3 separate regions of the Homo sapiens genome follow, and regions 2 and 3 are each linked to region 1. The links are contacts of gene promoters, found by promoter capture Hi-C in blood cells and fetal thymus (Javierre and others, 2016). All regions are on one chromosome and are shown on one strand. The core of a region is centred on a gene start or on the middle of the fragment in contact, and the rest is flanking DNA. Distances in the headings are between cores, read along the strand shown. Region 1 holds the start of SETD3 (SET domain containing 3, actin N3(tau)-histidine methyltransferase). Region 2 overlaps AK7 (adenylate kinase 7). Region 3 overlaps AK7 (adenylate kinase 7).

Region 1 (3,627 bases), core at 528-3,027:
TCCAATTCCAGGAAAAAAAAGCACTGAGATGTTAGCACACTGGAGAAGCAACCATTTTACTCCTTCAGACTACAGTTCCATTTCAGATATTAACTTACAATCACTTGGAGGGCAGACAGGAAAGGGGTAGCAGAAGGCTAAAATCCAAGGTTGTCTGGGGTCCCAATAAAGAGGTTCTGTAGCTGTTTGAGAACTTGGCTTTGCAAACTACTTTCTTAGGCCGAAGAAAAACTCCTCGGTAAACTGTTGGAATTTCACCAAAGTATCAATCACGGCAGCCCTTGGGACTAATCCAGTACTGCTGGACTTTCACGCATGGTAGCCCGTATAAACACAGTACATACAGCAAGGTTCAAGCAAGTCTTGGCAAATTTTAACAGTGGAGAGGAAGACTGCTTTATTTTGCTATATTCTTGGGTTAAATGTATTCGCTTAAAATAATAAACACTTCTCCGAGATTATTACTGGTTAGTTCAGTTTTGAAATACTGGCAAGGTCATTTCAAGAAGAAAAACGGGAGAGGGAGAGGTATATTTTACATAAGATAAAATTCACACTTTTCAGTGTCCGGTTCTGAGTTCTGACAAACGCATTTATAGTGGCCTCATCAGCACCACAATCAGGCTACGAAGATGGGGTAACTCTTCGAGGATTCTTAAAAGCAAAATTGATTTGTCAGCATACTTTAAAAGTATTTTTGCTTTTGAAACATCACCTTATTTATTTAGAAAAGCAAAATAACACGGTCCGAGTGGTCCTAACCCGCGAATGCCTTTGCAACACTGAAATGCCCTCCTCCCAACACCGGCCGGGCAGGGGTGAGCCCCGCAGCCAGGGGCGCGCGTCACTGTCAGCTCCTTTTCCCAAGTGGAGACCGGGAAAAGACAAGAGTTGCATCGCCGGGCTGGAGCCACGAGGAGGAAGAGTTAACGCCGGAATGACAAACTCTAAAGCACCGAATTGCCTCTCCCTAGTAGGGCACTGCGCGTGTGGAGCACGGCCAGGGGCGCGTGGGAAGAAAGACGACCTATTTCCTACGTCCGTCTTCCTAACTGGACGGCGCGGGAGGAGGCGGGGGCTGGTCCCCGGGCACCCTGGTGGGCACCGAGAACTCGCAGAGAGGAACATAAAACCGCACAGCCTTCCCCGAGCAGCGGGGTGACGGGAGGAAGGAAGGAAATGGGAGCGCGACCCGGCCGCGCGCAGAGCCGAGCCGACTAGCGCGAGGGGCCCGGGCCCCACCCGAGAGCAGGCGCGAGGGCCGGGGACAGCGGGGCAAGCTCGGGGAGAGCGCTGCCTGCACCTGGCACCACCTCGAGACCGGGTGGCGCGGGGCCCGGGAGCGTGGGCGCCAGAGGGGACAGGGCAGCGGCGAGCGCGCGCCTCTCGCCCCGCAGGGCGCCCGGGCAGAGGCCGACCGGCGCCCTCCGACCCCGCCGGGCCCTCCTCGCCCTGGCCCCCGAGCGCACACCTGCCCCTTCAAGCCCCGGGGCCACAGCGGCCGGCGGGGACCCTGGCGGGGGCGCGGGCCGGACTTCGGCCGAGGGGCGCTGGCCAGGGCGAGGGACGGCCTCGCAGAGCTCGGAGACGCGGCGCGAGTTTCCCCCGCGGGCCGCGCGGGCGCAGAGACCGCCGCCAGCACTCACCTGCCCGCTTCCCCTAGCGCAGCGGGAACGACGTACTCCGGCCCGGACCCCGCCGTCCGCCTCAACCAACCCCCAGGCGGTGGCGGCGGTGGCGGCGGCGGCGGCCGGACGGGAGGGGCGGGACGGCAGCCTGAGACGGCCCCGCGACCGCGGCCCAACGCTTCTCCTCCCGCCCCGGACCCCGCCCCCGGGCCGCAGCCGCCGCCGTTCATTGGCCCACGCTTCGGACGCATGGGCGCGGCCCCGCCCCGCCACCCAGCCGGCGTTCCGTTCGGGGTCCTCCCCAGCCAGTGGGCTGGCAGCTCCCGGGGGCAAGAGCGGCCGGCTCAGCCGCCGCCAACCACGATGTCGCAACTGGCTGCGTTCGCCCCCGCCAGAGCTTTGATTGGACGAATCTCGACCCGGGCCCCGCCTACGCGCCCAAGTTCCGTTAGCAGGTTCGGTTGCTCCAGAATGCCTTTTCGCCCCGAGGGGCGGGACCGACGGGATGGGCCCTGTGGCTGGCTCCTCCCTCTGTAAGCAGCAGCCACTGACCCGCGGGGCGGGCGGGGAGGAGAGCGGCGGCTCGTTCCTCTTTTGAGAGCTCTGCTTTCTTCCCATTGGTTGACAGGCATCCTACTCTCTCCGCCCCTCCGGTCGCTTGGTGGCGTCTCAGGACGCAGCGTGATGACGTAGGTCCCCGACATTCCATATACAAGATGGCCGCAGTCGGCAAGGAGAGACGTCGCTGAGGGGCTTGCCTGAAGCGAGGGGTGAGTGACCCACCGACTGAGGGCAGCGCCGCCCACCTCCCGCGTATCTGGAGGTCGGAGTAGGTTATGGCCAACCGCCGCTATCCACTGGCGGAGTCTCTCTTTCCGGATTCTGCCTCCCTCCGCTAACCTCCGGTACACATTGAACTTTGCGGGCGACGCGGGGTTGTGGGGCGGGCGTGTAGAGAGGGTCTGAGGCGCCGGGGCGGGGCAGGGAGGCCGGACTCACCCTAGAACTGGTAGCGGCCCTCGCACTGGGGGGCAGTCAGAGTTGGGGAACTTTCTAGGGGTTGGGCAAAAGGGGCAGCGGTGTTAACCGCGCACAGTCTCACAGCCACAGACTTCTCATATCTCCCCGATTATTTCGCGGCGTATTAGTCCCAACCTTGGCTAGGCCTGAAACTTTTTGGAGGTTGTTCCATGTCTAGGGTACTCCGACTTTGGAGTTTTGGAGAGCCACGTAACGAGGGTGCGGCTAAGATGAGGAAAAGGCACTTCCGGGATTAGATTTCGTTCTTGCCCAGACATCGTCTTTACGGACCCGCTCCTGGTGGTTGATTTGGTTTGTTATGAGAGAAATTGTTCTTTAGAAAATTGGAGCGTAAGTCTAGAGGTTATGTGACAGCTCCTAAACGATTGTCTGCCCAAGATAGGCTCGGTAATGCTCCCTAAATTTAGACTGCCAGTTAAACGGAGCTTTCGCTAAGTCATCTGAGGTTAGGAACTATTTCTAAGAGCATTTCTTAAGGGTGGTCTTCTGTGTTTTTAAGAGAAACTTGGTGATGTTTGTGTATCTCGATCTAAATCGCTGTTTACAGATACCTAGCACAATGCCTTGCAGTTGTAGGTGCCCGCTAAAGGTTTGTATGAATGATGTTGCTAGAATGAAAGCGAGGAGCTTTCAGCGCCTAGAACACTGCCTGACGTTTAATAAGCCCTCTGTATTGCTGAATGAAAGAATGGATGGATGATGGTAGTGGTAGTAGTATTGATAGACATTTGGATTAAAGTGCCCTTAGGATGCTTACCTGTTAAATAATCTTGACTATGAATATAATAATTATCCAAGATTGTCTTATTCAGAGTGACCACCGCTGGTGTCTTTTAGGGTTTTTTTCCCTCTTTTATCTCATTTCGATTATATTGTGATGCATTATTCAAGCATATTAGTTGATTTCTGGGCAAATCCTGTTTAAATTTGTTCCATTTTGAAAATGTAGTTTGCACTA
Region 2 (3,486 bases), core at 244-2,743, 3.0 Mb before region 1:
TTTTTCATGTGATTCCAGATAGCCAAATACAGTGACCTCCTTGTTATCTACGGTCTTACCAAGCAGAAATCTATTACTCGCTATCCACAGTTAGCCAGTGCAAGGACAATAGATGTTCTGAATAACTGTCTTGAGATACTGCAGAATCTTGAAGTTCTCTGAGTCATAAAGAGAATGAACATTTTTTTAAAAATCATCTAGTGAGAAGTATATTTTATCATATTAAAAATCTTTGAAAATTGGAAAGCCAAGGATGTTACTCATTATTTGATTAACTGGAATCTTCCACCTCCTGATCAGCCTGGAAGAAAGATAGAATATATTTTTGAAATTCATAGATTATTAACATAGTTCATACATTTTCTAACAAATGAGTATCATGTTAGGGAAAAATCTAAAAAGAAAATAAGTTTTCATATAGATGTCCGACATCATAGAGCTTAAATGGATTCAATTTTCAGCGAATCTGTTGACATCCTTTTGATTTCAGTACCGTACCAGCATTTGAGGCTTCATATGTCTACCTTCCTTTTCAAAAGGCAGCCACTCATGAAAATCATGACAATCAAATGGTAAAAGATGAGCAAAAAATAGGAACAACTTACTTGCGAAAACACCTCTTGTATGCAGAATGGAGGTAGTATCAAACTATTATGAATTTATAGGATCTTATTCCACACGCTGTCTCAGCCTTTGTTTTCACAGTTAACATCTGCAGCAGATGATGTTCACACATGTCCACATGCCTCGGGGACACACCTCCTGTGGGCTTTCCCCATTACACTTACCTTTTTCACCCACTCAAGGAAGCTTATTAGAATGCAAGTAAACGAGAATGGCATTATGATGTTATAAGCCAATACAATTTTAGAACAAAAATCAAATCATTCCCAAGTTCTGTTGAGCTCTAATAGATAGCAAGCTATTTGTGATGCACCCAGACACTGATCTGGGCACCAGTATACCCTGCTCCTGTAGTTGAGAACATCTAAGAATCACAACTCACCTTGGAAAGTTTATTTCACTGATCCACACTTAAATCTCTCATTCACTCAACAATTATCTATTGAATTTGTACTAGAAGCTGGAGGAACAGCTGCTTTCACAGTTTAAAAGAAAATCACAGATGGGTAAAATGGTCATCATTATTAACATGATCTGTGTGTTGAATTTGATAAGTGCTGACCATAACATGTTGTACGTAAGTGTTTCATAGCCAATGGCATTGATGAAAGAGCTGGATCCATGAAAATTCCAAGGGGAGTTCCCATTTTATTAATTTGGCAAACTGGCCATCAAAGCATTTTGCTTGTAGCCATAGCTCTCTTTGGAAGCCTGTGATAATTGTGCTGGATAGGAGGCAGCGTGAGGCCAGGAGCCGTGGCTTATCCCTGCCAGCACTTTGGGAGGCCAAAGCGGGAGGATTGCTTAAGGCAAGAATTTGAGATCAGCCCGCACATAGTAAGACCTTGTATCTCTCTAAAATAAATATACATACATATAAGTATGTATTTTTTAAAAAAGAGAAAAGAGACAATGTGAAAATTAACTAGGAAGCTGATATCACAGGGTTATCTGAGATTTGCTACTTATGATTTCTGCTGCTTTTATTAGTTAGAAAGGGAGGAAGGAAGGAAGGAAGGACAGAGGGAGGGCGGGGGAAGGGAGGGAGGAAGGAAGGAAGAGAGGGAGGGGGGAAGAAAGGGAAAATAATAGATTGCACAAAATACTAATTGGGCCTCATAGGGTGGTCTCTGGAAATGGGGTGATTTTCATCTATTTATCCTCCATGAGAGGCAGCAAAGCCAATTGGACAGGCTATTTGTGGCAACAGGAGGTCTTGGCTGGTAACCAGGGGGCCATGCGTTCTCCAGCACCCTGCTAGTTAGCTGCGCTGTATTGTGCCAACTCTGGAGTCTGTCCTTCTCCCCAGAATTCGTTTGTGCACTGGATGCTTCGGATGAGTTTCTGAAGGAGCGTGTGATAAACCTTCCTGAGAGCATCGTGGCGGGGACCCACTACAGCCAAGACCGATTCCTCCGGGCTCTGAGCAACTACCGGGACATCAATATCGACGATGAGACTGTCTTCAACTATTTTGATGAACTTGAAATTCACCCGATACATATTGGTATGAAATGAATTCAAGGATAATGTGAATGTCCAGGACCCCCAGCAAAGCTTGGTGCAGGTCTAGCTGTAATTGTGGGGCTGGGGGGAGGGTGGGGAGTGTAATCATGGGTTGGGGCACAGGAAGCCATGAAATACACAGGGCACTCCTCCTGGGGAGTCATTCTATGTGGGGATTTGGTGGTGGGAGGGTGTTATTATCGTATGAGAATTTATGGATATATTGTGAAGTCAAATGACAAATCCTTTTTTTTTTTTTTGTGGGGGGATGGAGTCTCGCTCAGTTGCCCAAGCTGGAGTGCAGTGGTGCAATCTTGGCTCACTGCAACCTCTGCTTCCCGGGTTCAAGCAATTCTCCTGCCTCAGCCTCCCAAGTAGCTGGAACTACAGGCACATGCCACCAGGCCTGATTAATTTTTTTTTCTTTTTTTTTGAGATGGAGTCTTGCTCTATTGCCCAGGCTGGAGTGCAGTGGCACCATCTCGGCTCACTGCAAACTCCGCCTCCCGGGTTCACGCCATTCTCCTGCCTCAGCCTCCCGAGTAGCTGGGACTACAGGTGCACACCACAGTGCCCGGCTAATTTTTTTGTATTTTTAGTAGAGACGGGGTTTCACTGTGTTAGCCAGGATGGTCTCGATCTCCTGACCTCGTGATCTGCCCGCCTCGGCCTCCCAAAGTACTGGGATTATAGGTGTGAGCCACCGTGCCTGGCCGACAAACTCTTTTTTTTTTTTTTTTAAAGAAATGTGTGTATGGTGCTGGCTGCTTGGGCCATTCCCCCAGGTTCCTTGGGAGCAGTGTTCTGTCCCTGTTAAATTATTGGGCACTGGTGCTCTTCCAGACCCTTTCCCAGCCTTCTGACTGGCCAGCCCATCCCCGTAGCTACCCAGAAGAGCAAATAGCTCTTCACTGCGTTCCTTCTTGTTTCCTGTAAACACAGCTCTGAGCTTAGCACACAGCAAGCACTCATGATCCCGCATCACGTCAGCCTCATCGTCACCATTATCATTCCTGGCTCCAGTTCTCAGCTTTCACAGCTGCTGCTACTTCCCTTGGCTTGTTGAACCCCTGACCTACCTTTCTGGTTTTCTGGACCTTCGCACGTATTCCTCCTATGGGCTTGGTGAGAAAGAACCAGCTTCTGCCTGGTGGAAGCTTCCTGGCCAGGCCCACACCTTGGGCCTCCAGGGGCTGCTCTCTACCCCCAACTGCCCAATGGGACAGCATTTGAGCCCTGGAGTATCGGGAGGCTTAGTGCTAAGGGATAATGTCAGCAGGAGGCAGGAGAGCTAATTCCAATTGTGGCTGGGCCTCAGTTTTCTCATCTGTGAAATAGGAAAATAATCAGGCTTGC
Region 3 (3,553 bases), core at 311-2,810, 3.1 Mb before region 1:
AGTGAAGGAAGGCACATTCCAGATTGTGGGCACGCTGTCCAAGCCTGACAGCCCGCGGCCTGACTTTGCGGTGGAGACGTACTCTGTAAGTCCCGGAGGCTCTGGCCAGGAGTAGACAGAGGGAAGAGTCACCTTCCGCTCCAACGCCTTGACAACTTGTTTTACTGTTTGCCTCCCCTCCCCTCTCTTCCACAGACATGGCCAGGTTGAGGGAATGGCTTTCTCCTGTAATGGAGATTTACCTCACAGACCCCACTTTTAATTTTCGGCCAAAGCAAAGAGTTTAAATTAGATAGTGTTGGAAAGGATGGATCTAAGTTGGACTTTCAGACTCATACAGTTCTCCTCTTCAGCATATTCTGCCTTGCATTATCCAAGACGAGTCTGTGCCATGATGGGTGCCATCTGTGAAGGAGAAATAGGCCAGGCGCGGTGGCTTACGCCTGTAATCCCAGCACTTTGGGAGGCTGAGGAGGGAGGATCGCTTAAGGCCAGGGGTTCGAGACCAGCCTGGGCAACATAGCAAGATCCTGTCTCTTATATTTATGAAAATAATTTTTTAAGAGAAACATCCTTTGGTAATGCACCACTCAGGAATAATATACCACTGCTGTCTCCAGAAACAATGCTGTCTCCACGTGACAAATTCAACACAGTCCTAGTCCTGAGACATTTAAATGTCTGAGAAGAAGTGGCCCTCTTCTTCTCCTGGGCCAACTCCTCCCTTACCCTGCCTGCTACTCTCTGGAGCCTACCATACAGCTTTCCACATGCTGTACCCTGGAGTGGCCTTCTCTCTTTTTTTTTTTATTCATCCTTCAAGAGTTGTGTCTCTTCCTCCAGGAAGCCGTTCATGATTCCTACTTCTCCCTCACTCCCAGTTTGGATTCTGAGCTCTTTTCTGAGCTCCCATATCATCCTTTGCCTGCCTAGATCATAGTGCTTTTCACACTCGTTGTTATCACCTGTCTATCGTGGGGGTCCATGGACACTGACTGTCAGCTCCTTGAGGGTGGAGACCGTGACTTGTTTATCCCTGTGTTTATCCATGTATCTGTGGCACCTAACACAGCCACTGCCACAAAGTGGCCTCAATAAACACTTGTGGAATGGACGAATGCATCCCCTCCAGACATCTTTGGGACCTTCCCATTCACCTCCTTCCCCTGTCTTCCGGGTATTCTTTCCCATTCACCTCCCTTCTCTCTCTTCTTGCCACTGGCTTCTTCCTCTATACCTACACATATGCTCAAATCATTCCTGCTGTAAAAAACACTTAACTTGGCCTCCCTGCTGGCCACCAGCCTCTTTCTCTGCCCCGGCCCCTGCCACCACTGAACTTCAGGAGACCAGCCGCATTTGCAGGTCTCACCCCTTCACCCCCGCCATTCACTGGTCTATCCAATGCTGGCTGGCCCTGCCCACAACACTTCACAGGAGGTGCCCTGGCCGATGTCACCAGCAGTCCCCTGACTCCCGAGGGGCTTAGCTCACCTGGCTTCACAGCAGCAGCCTGGCTTCCCGAGAGAAACTCGCCTTCCCTTCTTGTGCCTCGGCTCTGCACTGACTAAGCGCCCAAGTCCTCCTTCCCAGCTTCTTTCTCTGGCTCCTTTTCCTCTTTTACCCTTTAAATGCGGTTTTCCCCAGAGCTCACTCCCTTCCTACAACAGATGACCTTCCTAAATCTTATCCAACCCTATAGCTTCAGCTCCCCATATAGCCAGTGCTTTTTTTGCCTGTCTGCAGCCTCCAAATCCGACTGCCTCCTAGACCAGTCCCCGGTTGTCCTGCAGGCATTGCTGAATCAACATATCCAAAATCATATTTATTAGACCCCGCTACAAAAACAATCTTTTTTTTTTTTTTTTTTTTTTTTTTGAGATGGAGTCTCACTCTGTTGCCCAGACTGAAGTGCAGTGGCGCGATCTCGGCTTACTGCAACCTTCGCCTCCTGGGTTCAAGCGATTCTCCTGCCTCAGCCTCCCGAGTAGCTGGGACTACAAGCGCGTGCCACCACACCCAGCTAATTTTTTGTATCTTTAGTGGATACATGGTTTCACTAAGTTGTCCAGGCTGGTCTTGAACTTCTGGTCTTAGATGATCTGCCCACCTTGGCCTCCCAAAGTGCTGGGATTACAGGCCTGAGCCACCACGCCCGGCCCAAAACCACTCTTTGTATGACTTTGTACTACTGATTTTTATTAAAGACCTTGCTATCTCTATCAATTGGGGCTGTGTTGGACCGCATGTAATAGAAAACAGAGGTGACCCAAACTGGCTTAATAAATAAGGAAATTCATCAGCTTATGTAGCTAGTGGCCCAGAAGTGGAACCGGCTTCAGAGCTGATCCACAGGCTCCAGCTCCTCTTCCTGCCCCTTCCTGGGCTCTGCCCTCCTTGAGGGATGACTTTATCTTCAGGCTGGCAGTAAGGCTGCAACAGTCCAGGGCCTTAGTTCATACACAGTGACGCTCTGGCAAAGCAAACTTCCAGAAGGTCTCAGAGAAAGGACGATGGACATTGCCAGCAGTCCCTGGCAAGCATCTCTTTGAGTCTCACTGTCGTGAATGGAATCATTGTCCCTTTCCTGAGCCAGTCACTTACCCTTAGATCAATTAGGCTCATCCTTTAAGCCAGAAGAGGGAGTTAATTTCCCGCAGGCTGAGGAGTATCTGAAGCAAAATTGGGGTTCTGTTGGAGAAAAGGAAGAGGAAATGTAAGTTTGTAGACAACGAATAGTGTCTTTTATCCCGTTCATTATGCACTCGCCTTCCATCAAAGCTGAAAACCTCAGAGAGCTGTGGGCTCTTCCCTTGCCCTTGACTCCTGAATCCTATTGGTCACGGGGTCCTCAGCACACCTCTCTGTCAGGTGTCCAGTCAGCCCCTCCTTTCCATTCTCATAGCCATGTGCCTTAGTCCTGATCTCCAGCATCTCTCACTACTCACCTGAATTTGATTCTGCGAATGTTTCCTGTGCACCCTAATGATCCACAGATGAACGTGGAGCTCACGGCTTGGCAGGGACTCTGTGACAGTAGATGTGGGGACAGAGGCATGCACAGAGCATCACCCAAGGCTCTCTGAAAGGGGCACCTAAGGAATTCTCAGTCTTATCTAGAGAGACAGGCAAATGAAGCTTCAAATCCCTCCTGCCAAACAGATCGGGGCCTCCTGTGCTCTGATCTTGAGATCCTGGAGCCTCCATTAGCACAAAGTCCTGCAGATGGCCCTCCCTTGGAAGGTTGGGATCTACTGGAGATGGTGGGGCTGAGGCTGGTCTTCCGTGGTTGAGTGGAGCTTGCAAGACAAGTAAGGGAGGAAGGAAACACCATGCAAGGGGGAATGCCTGGGAAAGTATATGGTGCGCTGTGGCAGAGAAAGAGCATGGGTTATGGGAACCACAGGGAAGACACAAAGGTGGCAGAAAAGGTGGGGGAGAGTGCTCGCTTCAGCGGCACATATGCTCAAATTGGAATGATACAGAGAAGACCAGCAAAAAATGAATAAAAGGTGAGGGAAAGGTGAGAATGGAAACCGTTAGCCTGGTTCAG

The links. The method cuts DNA at HindIII sites, captures the fragments that hold promoters and counts their contacts. A CHiCAGO score of 5 or more calls a contact.
Region 2: a contact is called between a fragment that was not itself captured here and the fragment with the promoter of SETD3 in region 1, in 1 of 17 cell types (naive CD4 T cells). The highest score is 6.7, in naive CD4 T cells.
Region 3: a fragment that was not itself captured here is called in contact with the fragment with the promoter of SETD3 in region 1 in 10 of 17 cell types (neutrophils, non-activated CD4 T cells, naive CD4 T cells and 7 more); the score reaches 13.4 in neutrophils.

What each region holds. Positions count from the first base shown.
Region 1 is chr14:99,479,082-99,482,708 of GRCh38, forward strand. SETD3 (SET domain containing 3, actin N3(tau)-histidine methyltransferase) reads right to left here and starts at 1,778. Exons shown (of 13, transcript NM_032233.3): 1 at 1,647-1,778. CCNK (cyclin K) reads left to right here and starts at 2,328. Exons shown (of 11, transcript NM_001099402.2): 1 at 2,328-2,398. RefSeq lists enhancers at 909-1,410, 2,219-2,588 and silencers at 1,259-1,458, 1,569-2,028. The HindIII fragment of the contact is 7,554 bases long and covers 1-3,627 here.
Region 2 is chr14:96,476,532-96,480,017 of GRCh38, forward strand. It overlaps AK7 (adenylate kinase 7), which reads left to right. Exons shown (of 18, transcript NM_152327.5): 15 at 1,934-2,131. Among named protein-coding and RNA genes, the nearest start is that of PAPOLA-DT, 24 kb to the right of the region's middle. The HindIII fragment of the contact is 1,371 bases long and covers 809-2,179 here.
Region 3 is chr14:96,398,179-96,401,731 of GRCh38, forward strand. AK7 (adenylate kinase 7) reads left to right here. Exons shown (of 18, transcript NM_152327.5): 2 at 1-85. Among named protein-coding and RNA genes, the nearest start is that of AK7, 7.8 kb to the left of the region's middle. The HindIII fragment of the contact is 3,151 bases long and covers 1-3,136 here.